2 separate regions of the Homo sapiens genome follow, and region 1 is linked to region 2. The links are contacts of gene promoters, found by promoter capture Hi-C in blood cells and fetal thymus (Javierre and others, 2016). All regions are on one chromosome and are shown on one strand. The core of a region is centred on a gene start or on the middle of the fragment in contact, and the rest is flanking DNA. Distances in the headings are between cores, read along the strand shown. Region 1 overlaps MTA1 (metastasis associated 1). Region 2 holds the start of CLBA1 (clathrin binding box of aftiphilin containing 1).

Region 1 (7,653 bases), core at 516-3,015, 480 kb after region 2:
CACGTGTGGCCCTGGCGCCCCTGCCTGCGCTGTCTGCCATCGCGCTGTGACTGCCCGCATGCTGCCAGCCTCAGCTCGTGGGGCCGCCCGTGCTGTGCCTGCAATCCTTCCGTGCGCCTGCCAGGCGGGACAGTGGGGAGGGTGGTCGGGGGTGTCTGTGTGGGCCGTGGGCAACTGAGCTTGTACACATGGGTGCCTTCTGTCGGAGGACTGGCTCAGGTGCTCTGTGCCGGTTGCTTGGAGCAGGGGCTGCGGGACCCCAGGCCCCTTGGGGAAGAGCAGATAGGACCAAGCCTAGCATGAGGAGGCCAGGTGTGTGGGGCCCGGGTGTGCAAGTGCTGGGCCTGCCAGTGTGGATGTGCCTGGAGCCCCTTCGCCAGGCGGCTTTCACTGACGGTGCTGGCCAGGGCAGCAGGGCCGGTTTGGCGACCTGGAGGTGGATATGGGTAGTGGCTGCCCAGCCCAGCCAACCCTGTCCCCTTGGGGCATTCTCTCGAGGCTGCTGGGTGTCCTGGCAGGCACGTCCTGTGGGGTCAGCACGCCGGCTGCAGCGCAGGGTGGGCCTGAGATCGGGTGCCGGGCCCCCCATCTCCACCTGTCTGGACACGCACCCCTGGCCTGTCCTTGCAGCTTCCTCCCGACATCCCTTGGCGGTGTCTGTGTCTCGGCCCCAGCCCCAGCCCTCCTTTCCTGGGGCACCCTCCCAGCCATCTGGTATTGGGGCTGCCCCCATTGCCTAGTCCTGGGCCCAGGGCCAGCCCACTCTGGGCTGGCTTTACTTGTCTGTTCCTAATGGCAGGGCGTCCCAGGAACAGCCCCATAAGAGCTGGTAGAAACAGGAGGGAGTCCTTGTCAGCAGGCATCTTCGAGCTTTTTGTTTTGTTTTGTAAAAAGCGGTTAACCAGCAAGTTACATAAAAGCTTATTTGTTCCCACTGAATTTTCCACACCTCACACGTGAGTCCCAGCCATGCAGTGCTTGTGAGGGAGCATCACCCCTTGCCGCCTGGCTGGGCGGGGCCCTGGGCTCAGAGGGGTCAGCCACAGAGGAAGCGCCTGTCCTGACGTGTAGCGGCCAGGACCTGGGCGCTGGAGAGGGGCCAGCTGGGTGAAGACGGCTCCCGGGGGCACTGGCGCACACGAGGTGGGGTCTCTGTCCAGCCTGGGTAGGCATGAGCTGAGCTCGAGTGAGGGCCCTGCCTGCCCACAGCACGGGGCCCCAGCGCTCTAACCCGGCCATTTGCCCGTGCAGCCTGTTGCGCTGTCCCCACCTGCGGGGCCTGCAGATGGCTGCGTGTGGCTCACTAACCTAAAGCATGTGTTTCTTCCCTCTGCTGTCCACCGCTCTGGTAGGCACTTACCTGGGTAAGTAGTTTTTGTGCTACTGGCCAGCCCTGGGCGCTGGGCCTTGGCTTGTGGCAGGTGCCCTGAGGTATGGCTGTTCCTGCTTGGGAGCGCCGCAGATCAGGCACCTGGGCCCCCACCTGACCCTGCCCGGCAGAGCTAAGCAAACTGGCAGGGAAAGGCTGACCCAGGGCTCCAGGGCCCCAGTTGGCCCCCAGGGGAGTGCCCCAAGTTAGGAGGCAACTGCAGGTGGGGAGGGGCTGGACAGGCTGCTTCTGTTCCTTAAGGGATGGGCCTCAGCTAAGCAGCGTTTCTGGAGCTGGCAGGTTGCTCCGATGCCCCTGGGCCCTGGCACCTGACTGAGTTGAGTATGACATCCTGTCCTCTCTGAGCTGGTCCTGCTGGGAGCCGAGCCATCCTGGGACCAGCTCCCACATGCACACGCCCACACCTACACACAGGGCAGTGGGGAAGGGCAGTGAGTGGGGGAGGGCAGCGGCGGTCCTGGGCCCAGCTGGGGGTGACCAGGAGCATGGACCCCGCTTCTTGGCCCAACTCCCGCAGTGCCCCTTGGGCTCCTCACCCTGCACTGTGGGAAGTCAGAGGCCTCTGGCACCCCATCCCCAAGCACATGCCAGGGTGGCTGGGGCCCAGCCAGGGCAGTGGGTGGTGACCTGTTTCTGGCCGGGGCTGGCGGCTCTCTCAGAGCCTTAGGAAAAAGCCCGGCCTCCTGGTGGGGCAGTGCCGGCCACAGCGTGGCTGCCCTGCAGAGGGGCTTGTGCCGCTGCTGGACTGACAGCCTTGCGAGGCTTTGCTTGTCTCGGCACGGCAGGCAAGTGGGTGGACAGCCCCGGCCCCTGTGCAGGGAGGTGACTGTCGGGTCCAAGGCTCCTGGCCTCCTGCCTGGAGCCCAAGCCAATGTGTCTCTTGCTGGCCAGAGAGCTGTGGGGCCACCAGGCGGCCCAGGACCCGGGGATGCGAGGCCCCACGTCCCCCAGGCCCATCCTGGGTGTGGGCTGTGGCTTGGTTGGCAGATGGCCCCGGCCCATTGTCCCAAGGTGGCTGAGGCCGTGGTGGGCGGTGGGAGTGCAGGACGCGCTCTCTCGGGGCCTCATTTCTCTCCTCCATTTCTCATCAGGTCTGGCAAACCACGGACAGGCCAGGCACATGGTAAGAGGAACAACCCATGATGGGGTACGGTGCGCTCACCCATGAGCTCTCTGGGGTGTTGGGAAGAGGCCTGGCCAGCCCTGCCAGGTGCCACGTGGAAGCTTCCAGGAGGCCTGGCAAGACCAGAGGGGCTGCAGCATGTGGGGGCCATGGCCCCTGTGCCAGGCCCAGCGGTGTGCGGCCGACCAGCCCTCAGGGCTGCCCTGGGCCAGGCTGGGGGTCCGTGTAACTCACTGGGGTGGTGGGGGGTTGGCCAGGCACAGCACCTCCCAGCGGGAGCCCTGCAGGTTGAGGTGGAGCTGGCCCTTGGCTGGCTGCCCAGGAAGTGCACCCCCTCTGCAGGGACCAAGCCGGAACCTCCTGCTCAACGGGAAGTCCTACCCCACCAAAGTGCGCCTGATCCGGGGGGGCTCCCTGCCCCCAGTCAAGCGGCGGCGGATGAACTGGATCGACGCCCCGGATGACGTGTTCTACATGGCCACAGAGGAGACCAGGTGGGGCCTTCCCAGGGCAGGCGGGAGGGCTCCGCACAGCGTCCCGGCCCTCACCACCACCTCTGCCCACAGGAAGATCCGCAAGCTGCTCTCATCCTCGGAAACCAAGCGTGCTGCCCGCCGGCCCTACAAGCCCATCGCCCTGCGCCAGAGCCAGGCCCTGCCGCCGCGGCCACCGCCACCTGCGCCCGTCAACGACGAGCCCATCGTCATCGAGGACTAGGGGCCGCCCCCACCTGCGGCCGCCCCCCGCCCCTCGCCCGCCCACACGGCCCCTTCCCAGCCAGCCCGCCGCCCGCCCCTCAGTTTGGTAGTGCCCCACCTCCCGCCCTCACCTGCAGAGAAACGCGCTCCTTGGCGGACACTGGGGGAGGAGAGGAAGAAGCGCGGCTAACTTATTCCGAGAATGCCGAGGAGTTGTCGTTTTTAGCTTTGTGTTTACTTTTTGGCTGGAGCGGAGATGAGGGGCCACCCCGTGCCCCTGTGCTGCGGGGCCTTTTGCCCGGAGGCCGGGCCCTAAGGTTTTGTTGTGTTCTGTTGAAGGTGCCATTTTAAATTTTATTTTTATTACTTTTTTTGTAGATGAACTTGAGCTCTGTAACTTACACCTGGAATGTTAGGATCGTGCGGCCGCGGCCGGCCGAGCTGCCTGGCGGGGTTGGCCCTTGTCTTTTCAAGTAATTTTCATATTAAACAAAAACAAAGAAAAAAAATCTTATAAAAAGGAAAAAAACCAACCGGTCCTTCCCTGTGTCTTTTGTTCCCAGTCCCTCTCCCTGACTCAGGCCCTGGGCCCCCCACCCCCATCGGGCGGCCCTAGGCTGTGGCTCTGCCGTGGAGCTGGAGGCCCCTGGAGGCCACCTCAGCCAGGACAGCCACCCCAGCCTCTGGGCTCTGTTGCTCTCCCACCTGCCCACAGACCTTCCCCTGCTGGGGCCTGGCGCGGTGCCCTCTGCCCTCCCCAGGGGGCAGCAAGCGGTTGCAGGGCCCAACCCCCTTCCCCAGCAGAGCTGTGCTGAAACCGTCTGTGCGTCTGTGTCTGCGGCAGCGGTGGGCCGGGGACTGCCTCCCGGCAGGCAGAGCTGGCCCTGCCGAAGACCCTGTGGCTTCCCACCAGGGCAGCCAGTGCAGCTGGGCCAGCGAGGCCTTGGAGTGCTCCAGCCAGAGGCCCAACCTCCTGGCCATGTAGAGCCTGGCCCCAGCCGCCTGAGGGTTTCTGCCCAGAGCTCTGGCCCCCAAGCAGGTGTGCAGTCTCCACAGTGAGAATCTGCTTAGATTTCTGCAAGCACATTCTCAGAAATCCTGCTTGGCCCATCCTCCGGCCGGGGACAGGACTTGCAGGCCGGGGGACAGGTACAGGCCGGGCCACCAGAAGGAGGGGTCCGGTGGATAGCCTGGCTCCAGACCACCCCCCTGGCCGTGCTACCTCAGCCGGCCAGGAGGGGTCCGCCCAGGCCTCGCTCAGGGAGAGTAGCTCCTCTGTCTCTCCCCAGAGCTGTGCCTTTGCTCCCCCAGCCCACCCAGGCGCCCTGTCATGTGGAAATCTCAGCCACGGAATTAAAATAGAAACCACTTCTGCTGTCTCCCAGGAGACAAAGATAAGGGGGCGTCCTGGCCTCCGTGGGAGCCTGTGCTGGGGCCCAGCAGTGACAGGACTAGGTGTCAGGGACTCGGCTGCAGTGCACGTCCCACCCACCCTCCCTGGGCTGTGGCGCCCCCCCACCCAACCCCAGCCCCCACCAGCCAACTCTAATCTGCAGCCAGCATCCGAGTGACCCCACAGCCTGAGGACTTGCCTGTAGTGCGTCATCAGACGGCTGGGAAATCAGGCCCCTGACCTCATGAAGGACACAGCTCCCTCTGAGGCCTTTTCCAACCCTGGGGGTCTGGAGCTCAGTGAAGACCCCAGCTCCCTTGTCTCCCTTCCCCAGGCCTCGGGCTTGCCTCCCAGTGCTGGCTGCAGGGTTCTGGCCTCAGCAGCTCTTCCACCCCCCAGGGCCTGTCCTTTTCTGGAGTCAACATGTGGGCTGTGAGGTGTCCTAGGTCCTGGGCTCTATCCCAAGGGCAGGGAGGCCCTGAGGAGATGTGGGGCCCTTTCCCACCCCAGACACCCTCCCCGGCCAGACACCCAGGCTGCAGTGCCCTCACAGGGCCAAGCTCTGGCCACCGGTGCTGGGTGGGGCCTGGGCTGCTTGTGGGTCTAAACCTGGGCTTAGAAGTGAGTGGGTACCGGCTGGGGGGAGCATTGGCCTTGGTGCCCAGGCCATGAAGGGGTCTCCCAGCTTTGCTATGTCCTCGTTAGGCCCTTCCCTGCTGATGAGACAGCAGCCTGCTTTCTGCACCAGCAACCCCACAGGGGCCGCGGCTCCCCAGGGCCAGGGGCATCTCAGGGTGGCAAGGCCATCATGCTGTCATGCCTGGAGACCTGTCCTGCCAGCTCCGCTCCACCCTGCTAGGGTCCTCTGTCCACCACTCAGCCCAGCCTGGCTTCCCTGCAGTGGAGCTGAGTAGCAGGGGCCTGCTATCTGCCAGTGTCACAGGATGGCGGAAGGGACCAGACCACTGCAGCCCAGGGGTGTGACCCAGCCCCATGCCCAGCCATCAGCCCTGCCAGCTCCCTTCACACCCGCCGTGTCCTGTGCCCCCCTCTCCACTCGGGCCCGTCCCACTGTGTCACTGCCCCTGCCTGTGACCCACCGCAGCCTCAGAGGTGGAGACCAAGGCCACTGCTCTGCACCCATTGATCCTGACCCCTGCCTGCCAGGCCCAGAATAGCCCCGTCGCATTAGGGAGCTTCTGGCCGCTGCCCAGGGACTGCGGCTGGGGTGAGGGCAGTGCAGCAGCTGGCACACTCCTTGTCCCACCCCACCCTCCGTGTGTCTCCAGGGCACCTGGCCAGTGCCGAATGCCATTCCTTTGCTGCCACCCTGGGAGGGGCCTGCCTCTACCCCCATCCACTCTTCTGGCAGGGCTGGGGACCTTGGGGCAGGTGGTCTCCCTCCAGAAGAGCCCTGTGTTCAGCCAGCCCTGTCCTCCAGAGCAAGCCCCACAGGTAGCAAGCCCCACAGGTAGCAAAGTCAGGGAGGGTAATGGCTTAGCCCCAGGCTCCCAAGCTGGGCAGAACAGGGCAGGGAGCTGGAGAGGGTTTGGCAGTGGGCCCATGAATCCAGCCTGGGCAAGGCCCTGCTGTGAGGGACCCCTAGGGACCCCTGGGCCTGCCAGGGAGGAAGGGCTGCCCAGAAAAGGTACTGACTGATGCCTCCTCACCATCTTCTGCCTTGGCTGGCACAGGTCCCAAGTGCAGAGGGGGAGCTGGTCAGGCTGGTCAGTCGGGCGGGGGGGCGGGGGGCATGTTTCTGGCCTGCTGTCACCATGGAAATGGCAGTGGCTGCAGGGTGTGTGTGCAAGGGAGGAGGGTGCTGCCACAGAGAGCCCAGCCAGGACCACCATGAAAGCCAGGAGCACCGAGGGCCTCTGGTTGGCTCACAAACATGCCTGGTGCACCAGGCAGAGGGAACAGGTAGGTCTCCGTGTCCAGCCCACAGCCTCCAAGACACAGGGGGAAGGGTGTCCAGAGTCAGCTGCCCCCATAGGGCCTGATCACTGGGCTTCTGGGATCTGCCTGTCTCCCAGGCCGACGCTCAGCTGGGGCCAGAAGGCTCAGAGAAGGGCCCATGGGGACAGAGCACCAGGAAGCCCGTGGGTGCGGAGGTTCCCCACCTGGGGCCAGGCTCTACGGGGCTCTAGGGCGGAGGCACTGTGGTGAGGCGTGGTCAGGCACGCCCTGGTTGGGAGGAGGCCAGAGTGGGGGTGTGGGGGTGCGGTGACTGGCATGACCCCTCAATCTCCCGCCTGACCCCTCGAGGTCAGGCCCTGGGCCCCCAGGCACGCAGCTGGTCCTGGGCGGTGCGGGAGAAGGGACTGGAGTGTCAGCCCCAGCCCGGGGCACAGAGGGCACGCCCACTCCTTCCCCTCCTTCCCTTCCTAACTCCTCACCGCCTCCCCGGCCGCCCCCTGGGTGGAAGTGCTTGGGGTGGACGCCTTAAGCGCGGATCCCTCGGCGCTGGTGCCCGCCGCCCCTTCCCTGCCTGGGAGGCAGACGCAGACCTCCCCACACCCCCTACCAGCAGCTTCTCGAGCTGTTTCTGGAGGTGGCGGCGCCTTCCTTCCTGAGCCCTGCCCTCCACCCAAGGAGCCTTCAGCACCACAGACAGTGTTGGGGCGGGGCGCGGGCGGGGGCGGAGCGGGACATGGAGACCCGGACAGGGCTGGGGGCCGTGCCCGCCGGGAATCTGACTCCGCTCCCGCGGCGCGGCTGTTGCTATGGAAACCGAGCAACAAAGGGAAGCGGGACAGGCGCCGCGCGCGGCGGGGTGGGGGTGGGGTTCTCCCGGAGCCTGCGACCCCTTCCCGCGGCGGAGCGCAGCCTGGGCGCCCAGGGCCGGGAGTGTTGGACCCCTAGGCCCAAGTCACTAGGGCTCCCCGAGAGCCGAGGGCCAGGCTCCCCGCACCCTGCCCGCCGCCCCGGGGACGGCCCGGCCAGGCGGCCCCGACGTCGCCATGGAAACAGCCGGGGCGCGGGCGGCGCCGCGGTCGCCCGGGCGGGCCCCTGTAGACGCCACCTCCGGCGCGAGGGGCCCGGGGGC
Region 2 (6,770 bases), core at 3,744-6,243:
TCAGGGCACTCACCCACCTTTGTGTCCTCAGCCCCTTTAGGTGTGTGCCCTTGACAAAGTCATGTGGCCTCCTGGGTCCCCATCCAAATGAAGTGGCCCCTCTCCTGATTGTCTGGCGTGATCTGCGCAGGGCTACGGGGACTCCCCTTGGCTTTGCGGGATGGGTGAGGATGGAGCCCTGGGTGGGGAAGCCGAGGTTGCCCCCGACATGTCCCTGTCCCTGGGCTACTACCTGCTGCCCCTGCCTCTGTTTTCCTTCAGCAAGATGAGAGAACCCTCCAGGCCATCTTGGTGGGGGCCGAGTGAGAGCGCAAGTTCAGCGTGGCGTCACGGGAGTGTGGGGACCCCACACTTGGGAGGACTTTGCCCTGGTCCTGCCCCTCAGCCTGGGGTGGCTGAGATCTTCCCCTAGCTGTGTCCACTGGGCCTGTCCTCCCCTGGCTAAGAAATGGTCCCAGAACCAACCACAGCTGCCCAGGTCCAGGAACTTTGCCTCTGCCCTGCACGGGGCTGCCCACTTCCAAGGTGGGCACAGACACACACACGCAGCTGCGCCATGCTCCCCTGTGGCCCCAGAATTCAGGATGGGGTCTGGGCAGGGCCTGCTCCACCCGGAGGCCGTCCCTCCCTTCTCCTGCCCACTCTGAGACAGAGGGCTGGTGTCTCTCTGCAGTGGCCTCTGGCTCTGCGCTGCCCTGAGTGCTGGGGCCACAGTCTGGTTGTGACTGTCGGGGAGCTGGGGACTGCCCCTCCCACCCTCCTTCTGGGGGTCTTCTCCTAGCTTGAGGGTTAAGCTGACAGTGTCATGAGTAAGACACCTTGGGGTGTCTGTCCAGAGAGCTTCCCCACCTCAAGGAACCTGGGGTCCTGAGAGCTCTATCTCACTCCAGATGCCTCTGGGAGGGCCTGCAACTTGGGCAGTGTACCCCCACAAACAGGCAGGCTGCGGCTATGTGCAGTTGAGGACTGGCTCCCCAGGGGCCAGCCAGAATCCCTCCTCCCGCCCACCAGGGCCTCAGCAGCTGAAACAGGGGTCCAGGGTCACAGCTGTGGGAGCAGGGGAGAAGATGAGAGGGGCTGCCAGCCCCCATCCCGGGCCCTGCCCGCCAGCTGAAGCCTGCGCTCCTGTCGTCACGCCCAGCTCCAGTTTCCTCCCCATGTGCCCCTCTGAGGACAGATGCCCAGCTAGGGAGGACCACAGAAGCATGCCTGGGCTCAGGAATTCATGCCCCCACCCACAGCATCGCTGGACACAAGCCCAACTCACAGCCGCCCCTGGCACATACAAGGCCCCACACCTGCTGTAGGTGTCACCCCAGGGAGAGGGCATCGCATGCTCTCTCCTGTGCACACAGCCTCCACCTCTTCCCTGGACCACTGAGATGGGGACACTGGCCCAGCCCACTGGTTGCCCACAGCCTTCCTGAGGCTGGGTGCCGGGGCCTGGGTGAGGAGCCGAGGCTCCCCAGGCCCTGATCATCAGCAGAGCCGCTGCCCTGCCCCCATGGCCTGACTGGCGCTGCTTGCCTCCACCCTCTGCAGGCAGGGATGCCCACAGCATCAATGATTGATTCTTGCTGCGGCAGCTGCAGCAACATAAGCAAAAATAGCTCTGCTGTGGTCCCTGCCCCGCCCCAGCCACAGCCTTGCATCCAGCCCAGCCTCGTGCCCAGATGGAGGGGTGTGAGGTGAGGTGGGAGCATCTAGGACTGTCTCAGCCACTGCCTGCCCCTCCTCAGTCTTTTATACGGAGATGATGGGGGAGGACCCCCTGACCAGGTGGGGGACACTTGTCCACCCAGCCTCCCACTCTTGCCTGACCACACTGACTCCTGACCTCTAACCGCCTCACTCTCCCCCAAAGCTGGGTGCCCGTTTCAGGCCTGGGTATTGTCCCCAGGTCCACTTCCTCTGCACCCACACAGCTGGGATCAGGAAATGTGGCAGTGGTGGGGCATGTCAGGGTGCTGCCATCGTTCCACTCGGATGGGTTTCTTCAACCCATGTCTTCATCGGGCTCTCTGGCTCAGCAGTCCGTGTGGGCTAGCCTGGGATCCGAGCAGCAGCAGGTTCCCATGCTGCCGCCTGCAAGCCCTGGCACTCCTGCTGCCAGAGGTGAGGACAGGCACACGCCCCAACTTGCCCTAGGGACTTGGGGCTGAGGATCCCAGAGGACCAGGATGCCTGGGTGCTTCTGGGGACCCCTCCCCAGCCAGTCCTTGCTCATCAGGTGATGCTGGGAGATCCCAAGATGACTGTGGGGCTCTGTGCATAGGTGGCACTTGCCCCAGAACCCAGGCTGGCCCCTTCCTCCTGAGACTAGGGTAGGGAAGCTTGGCTCCTCTGCAGAAGGGAAGGTGCTCCCCACACAGCCATTGAGCAGGGCTGGGGCTCAGGGTGGACCGAGGTGGCTGGAGAGGTCCTGGGAGGGCCACATGGGCTCCTCGTCCCGACCACACTCCACCTGCCCCCTCCATGCCCCTCGGGAGTCATGGCTAATGTCCCCCACACCCAGGCTTTAATGGGAACCCACCCTCTCCGGCCCAGTCTCCCCTAGCAGCTGGGCCAGTTCAATTTGAGCAGTGCCTGCTCCAATCGCCAACCTGGAAGCCTTATCCTCAGCTCGTGCCTTTCAGGCTGTGCCATGAAGCAGGATGGTCTGCCCAGAAGCTGGCCCAAGAAGCCAGCAGCGGCCTAGCAGCCACCTGGGCTGCCCCCACCTCCTCCTGCAACCAGGGTTGGGCACCTGATGTCAAGGTTGCCGCTGCCATTTCCTCTGCACCTTGGCTTCCCCGACGCAGCACTTCTCAGTGGGTCACAAGGGGTCACTCAGGCATATTAGTTCCCTGCTGCTGCCATAACAAAATACCCCCGACACAGTGGTTGAAAACAGCATGTGCGCATTTATCAACTCCAGTTCTAGGTGTGGGCAGGATGGTGTGCCTTCTGGAGGCTTCAGGGGAGATCTGTTTTCTGGTCCCTTCAGCCTCCAGAGGCATCTGCAGTCTCGTATCACTCCGGCTCTGCTTCCATCTTTGCGTCTCCTCTCTGACTCTGACCTTCCTGCTTCCTTCTCAGGACCTTTGTGATTACATGCCTCATCCAGGCTCCACTCCTCCTCTCAAGAGCCTTAATTTAAGCCCATCTATAAAGTGTCTTTGACCCTGTAAGGTCACATAGCCACAGGTTCCAGGGGTTAGGATGTGGACATCTCTGTGGGGCTGTTCAACTGCCACACCAGCTCTTCAACCCATATGGGTCATTTCTATCCTCCAACCACCCTGGGAGTACTGTGCTCCCCACGCTCTTCACGTGGAAGCTGAGGCCCAGACGGGGGTGGGGAATTGCAGAGAACGAGGAGAGCAGCTCCTGTCCCAGCTCTGCTTCTCACGCAGGCCTTTGGGGTGGGGCCTCAGTTTCCCCACCTGTACACAAGGACAACACTCCTCCTGCCCCCCTCCCAGCTCCCTGGGCCTCAAGGACGGCAAGGACGTGCAGTGGATGAGGGGCAGCAGTGGGAACGGACACTGCCCTTAAGCTGGCAAGACAGGCCCAGGCCTGGTCTACAAACCCAGCCAGCTCCTGATCACCATCCTTAGGGTCACTGCGGTGCTGGGGTGGCCAAGCCAAGATCCAGTCCTGGGCAGTCTGACCGAAGAGCTTCCATACTGCATGGCCCGGCTGCTCTGCCCCTCAGGAAGGAGCGGGGACAGGAGGCTGGGTCTAAGGTGCAGAGAATGATCTCATCTTGTCATTTGTAAAATTAAATTGTTCTGTAGCTTGGCTGAGAAGGACCAGGGAGGGAAGGGGTGATTCAAGCAAGGACAGAGTCCAGGCAGGGCCCCAGGCCCCAGGGTGGGAGAAATGCGAGCCTGAGGTAGATAGGGGGTGGACAGTAGGTGGCATGGTTCAGGGCTTCACCAGGGCCAGGCCCTCCCCTTACCCAGAGGAGGCAGTGATGGGGGCCAGTCTGGGAAGGCCAGGGAGGAGATGGAGTCAAGGTTGACTCCTTGAGTCTGGGGGTGAGGGCAGATGGCAGAAGGCCTGGAAGCCCGGAGGGGAGCTGCCAGAGGCCAGCCTAGCTCCTTGGTCGTCCAGTGGCTGGAGAGGGGCTGTCCGTCAGCCCTGCTCTGCCCGGGTCTGGCTGGTGACAAAGGAGGGGAGCACTCCATGCGGCCTGCGAGGGAGGGGTGGAGCCTCCCCGCAGCTCCTTCCCCCAGGAATGGGGACGAGTTAGGGGCGGGCGAGGTTTTGGGATTCAGGAGTCAGCAAGACGGACTTGGCTCTCGCCAGGGACAGGTGGGGTCCTGAGGGGCCGTCGCTCAGCTGCACCCACAGAGGGGTCGGCGGCGCGGCAAGTTAGGCTGCGGGGCGCCGGGAGAAGGGGCTGCGGGTGACGGGTGCGCTGGGACGGACCTGGGGAGCTCGTCGTGAGGAAGAAAGAACCACTCTAGGGCCAGGCCCAGTGGCTCAAGCCTGTAATCCCAGCACTTTGGGAGGCCGAGGCGGGCGGATCACGAGGTCAGGAAATCGAGACCATCCTGGCTAACACGGTGAAACCCAGTCTCTATTAAAATACAAAAAAATCAGCCGGGCGTGGTGGCGGGCGCCTGTAGTCCCAGCTACTCGGGAGGCTGAGGCAGGAGAATGGCGTGAACCCGGGAGGCGGAGCTTGCAGTGAGTCGAGATCGCGCCACTGCTCTCCAGCCTGGGCGACAGAGCGAGACTCCGTCTCAAAAAAAAAAGAAAAAAAAAAAAAAGAAAGAACCACTCGGGCGGCGAACTGAGCACGGACAGAAAGCTCGAGCGGCCCGGCGCCCAGGGCTCGGCCAGTGTGGAAGCCCGATCCCACCCGCAGCGGAGGCGGCCCGGGGCAGGGAGGGCGGGTCCGGGGCGGGTCCTGAACGGCGGGGGCCGGCGCTGGCCTCGCCCCGGATGCGTGCTGACGCCACGGCGACGGACGCCGGAAGCGGAGCTGGCGCACGCCGTTGCCAGGCAACGGGGCGGCGCAGGCAGGAGGGAACGGCTGGTTGCAGGTTTCTCTCGCCCTGGTCCCGCGCGGCCCCGCCGAGGCGGCGACCAAGGTGGGTGCGGGGACTCTCGGGAGCCGTGGGCCAGGCGCTTAGCCGGCCACCTCGGGCCCTGTCCAGGCCCAGGCGTTCCAGGGCTGCTCTGCGGGCCGCGTGCGAGAGGGACTCTCGGGAGGCCCCGGGGCGCCGCACCCACTCCTTCCCACTTGGGACTCCCGCGGGCGCCCGGCTCTCGCTCCTCTGGCCAGCGTGGGCCTCCCAGGCCCCCTCGCGGCTCTCTCCAGAGCAGGAGCCCCACCTTGGGCCGCCCCTCTCACACCTGCCGTGGGTCTGGTACGCGCCTCTGTGTCGGACTCCGCGCCCGCCTGCGTGGGAGGAAGCCAGGACTCCCGGGCGACCGGGCCATTCCTGTGGTTTGTGTCAGTTCCACAGCAGCACGTGGGCACTTTCCACCGTCAGCCACTGGGCAGCCCGGGGCACTCCTGCAGCGTCCCCTGGCCCTCTCCAGGGCAGGGGAAGGTTGGGCAGTCCTGGGCGGCCAGCACCCCGGCGTGCATGTCTCCTGAGCAGCTGCCCATCGGGCCTCTGCTGGCCTGGGGGCTCCAAGATGCAAGGCCGGCGGGAGCTGGGGGGAGAGCCTTTGAGTGACCTCCAGGAGGAAGCAGCCAGCGCTTCCCTCCGAGTGGCACCTGAGAGGCTGAGTGATGACAGTTTGGAATGGAGACGGACCTGCCCCGACCTTCTCCTGTCCGATGGGAAAGCCAGCATCTCCATGCCCCGTGAGGGCGGTTCCACCTGCACTGCCCGATGTCCTGACCCTGGGGAACACAGCAGCACTTGGGGGGAGTTTGAAGGCTTTCGGGAATCTTCAGCCAAGTCTGGACAATTCTCACAGTCCCTTGAACTCCTCGAGGGACCCACAGAACCCCAGCCACCGAGAACCACTTCTGCCCCAAAAGAGTGCAGTTCTCACCAACCATGCCAGGGTGGACCTTGGGTGACAGGAACTTCTGCCGTCCCACCTTCTGAGGTATTTCTGCTGTGCTGTGGTCACCATGTTGAGTGGGACGTGTACACACCAAGAGGCCTACAGCCCTCGAATGCTGTGGCGTGCTGGCCAGGGAGGGGGCTGACAGCCCCAGAGCGTCTGCTTCTCTCCTGGCCTTCGTCCCTGGCCATGTGGTTGGCAGTCCCATCCTGAGGCCAGGGAAGCAATGAGTTGGCAGAGGAGGCTGCAGAAATGGGTCACACGAAGGCCAGGTGGGGGCCACCTGAGCTGGGTCGCTCTTTCTGACCATTCCTCCCCCAGCCTGTCCATTCCCCATTGGTGGGGGCTGCACTGGCCCCAGCTCAGGGCATTTGAGGAGGAGCTTTTTGTCTGAATTCTGAATCTGCTGAGTTCAAAAGTCTCAGAGATTCTAAAATCACATGATCACATTTCAACTTGCTTGTAATGAATTGGGTGACGCGGGATCCAACCTGTCCGGGAGCTTGTAATGAATTGGGTGATGCCCATTCCGACCTGTCCGGGAGCCAGGGTCCCAGCCTTCAGGCCCCTGCCCCCTGCTCTCTTTCAGAGCAGACTGTGGGTGTTTACCGTTTGGTGACACTTCCGCTCCTTCTCTTTTCCTGTCTTCTTCCTTCCATTGTTCCTCTTTCTCTGCCACTTCTTCCCAAATGGTTCATCCCAAGCACCATCATGAGAGATCAGAAATAAAACCAGTGAGGAAGGAAATAAAG

Evidence for each region. Contacts are between HindIII fragments. The CHiCAGO score rates a contact against its expected background, and 5 or more counts as called.
Region 1: a fragment that was not itself captured here is called in contact with the fragment with the promoter of CLBA1 in region 2 in 1 of 17 cell types (neutrophils); the score reaches 5.1 in neutrophils.

What each region holds. Positions count from the first base shown.
Region 1 is chr14:105,466,986-105,474,638 of GRCh38, forward strand. It overlaps MTA1 (metastasis associated 1), which reads left to right. Exons shown (of 21, transcript NM_004689.4): 19 at 2,482-2,513; 20 at 2,856-3,007; 21 at 3,080-3,744. The coding sequence ends at 3,230. It also overlaps a transcript of CRIP2 not described here. Among named protein-coding and RNA genes, the nearest start is that of CRIP2, 4.0 kb to the right of the region's middle. RefSeq lists enhancers at 3,859-4,722, 6,278-6,810 and silencers at 6,839-6,888, 6,899-6,988, 7,079-7,228, 7,499-7,568. The HindIII fragment of the contact is 1,694 bases long and covers 919-2,612 here.
Region 2 is chr14:104,980,795-104,987,564 of GRCh38, forward strand. It overlaps CLBA1 (clathrin binding box of aftiphilin containing 1), which reads left to right and starts at 4,994. Exons shown (of 5, transcript NM_174891.4): 1 at 4,994-6,060. The coding sequence starts at 5,638. RefSeq lists a silencer at 4,783-5,252. The HindIII fragment of the contact is 10,527 bases long and covers 2,332-6,770 here.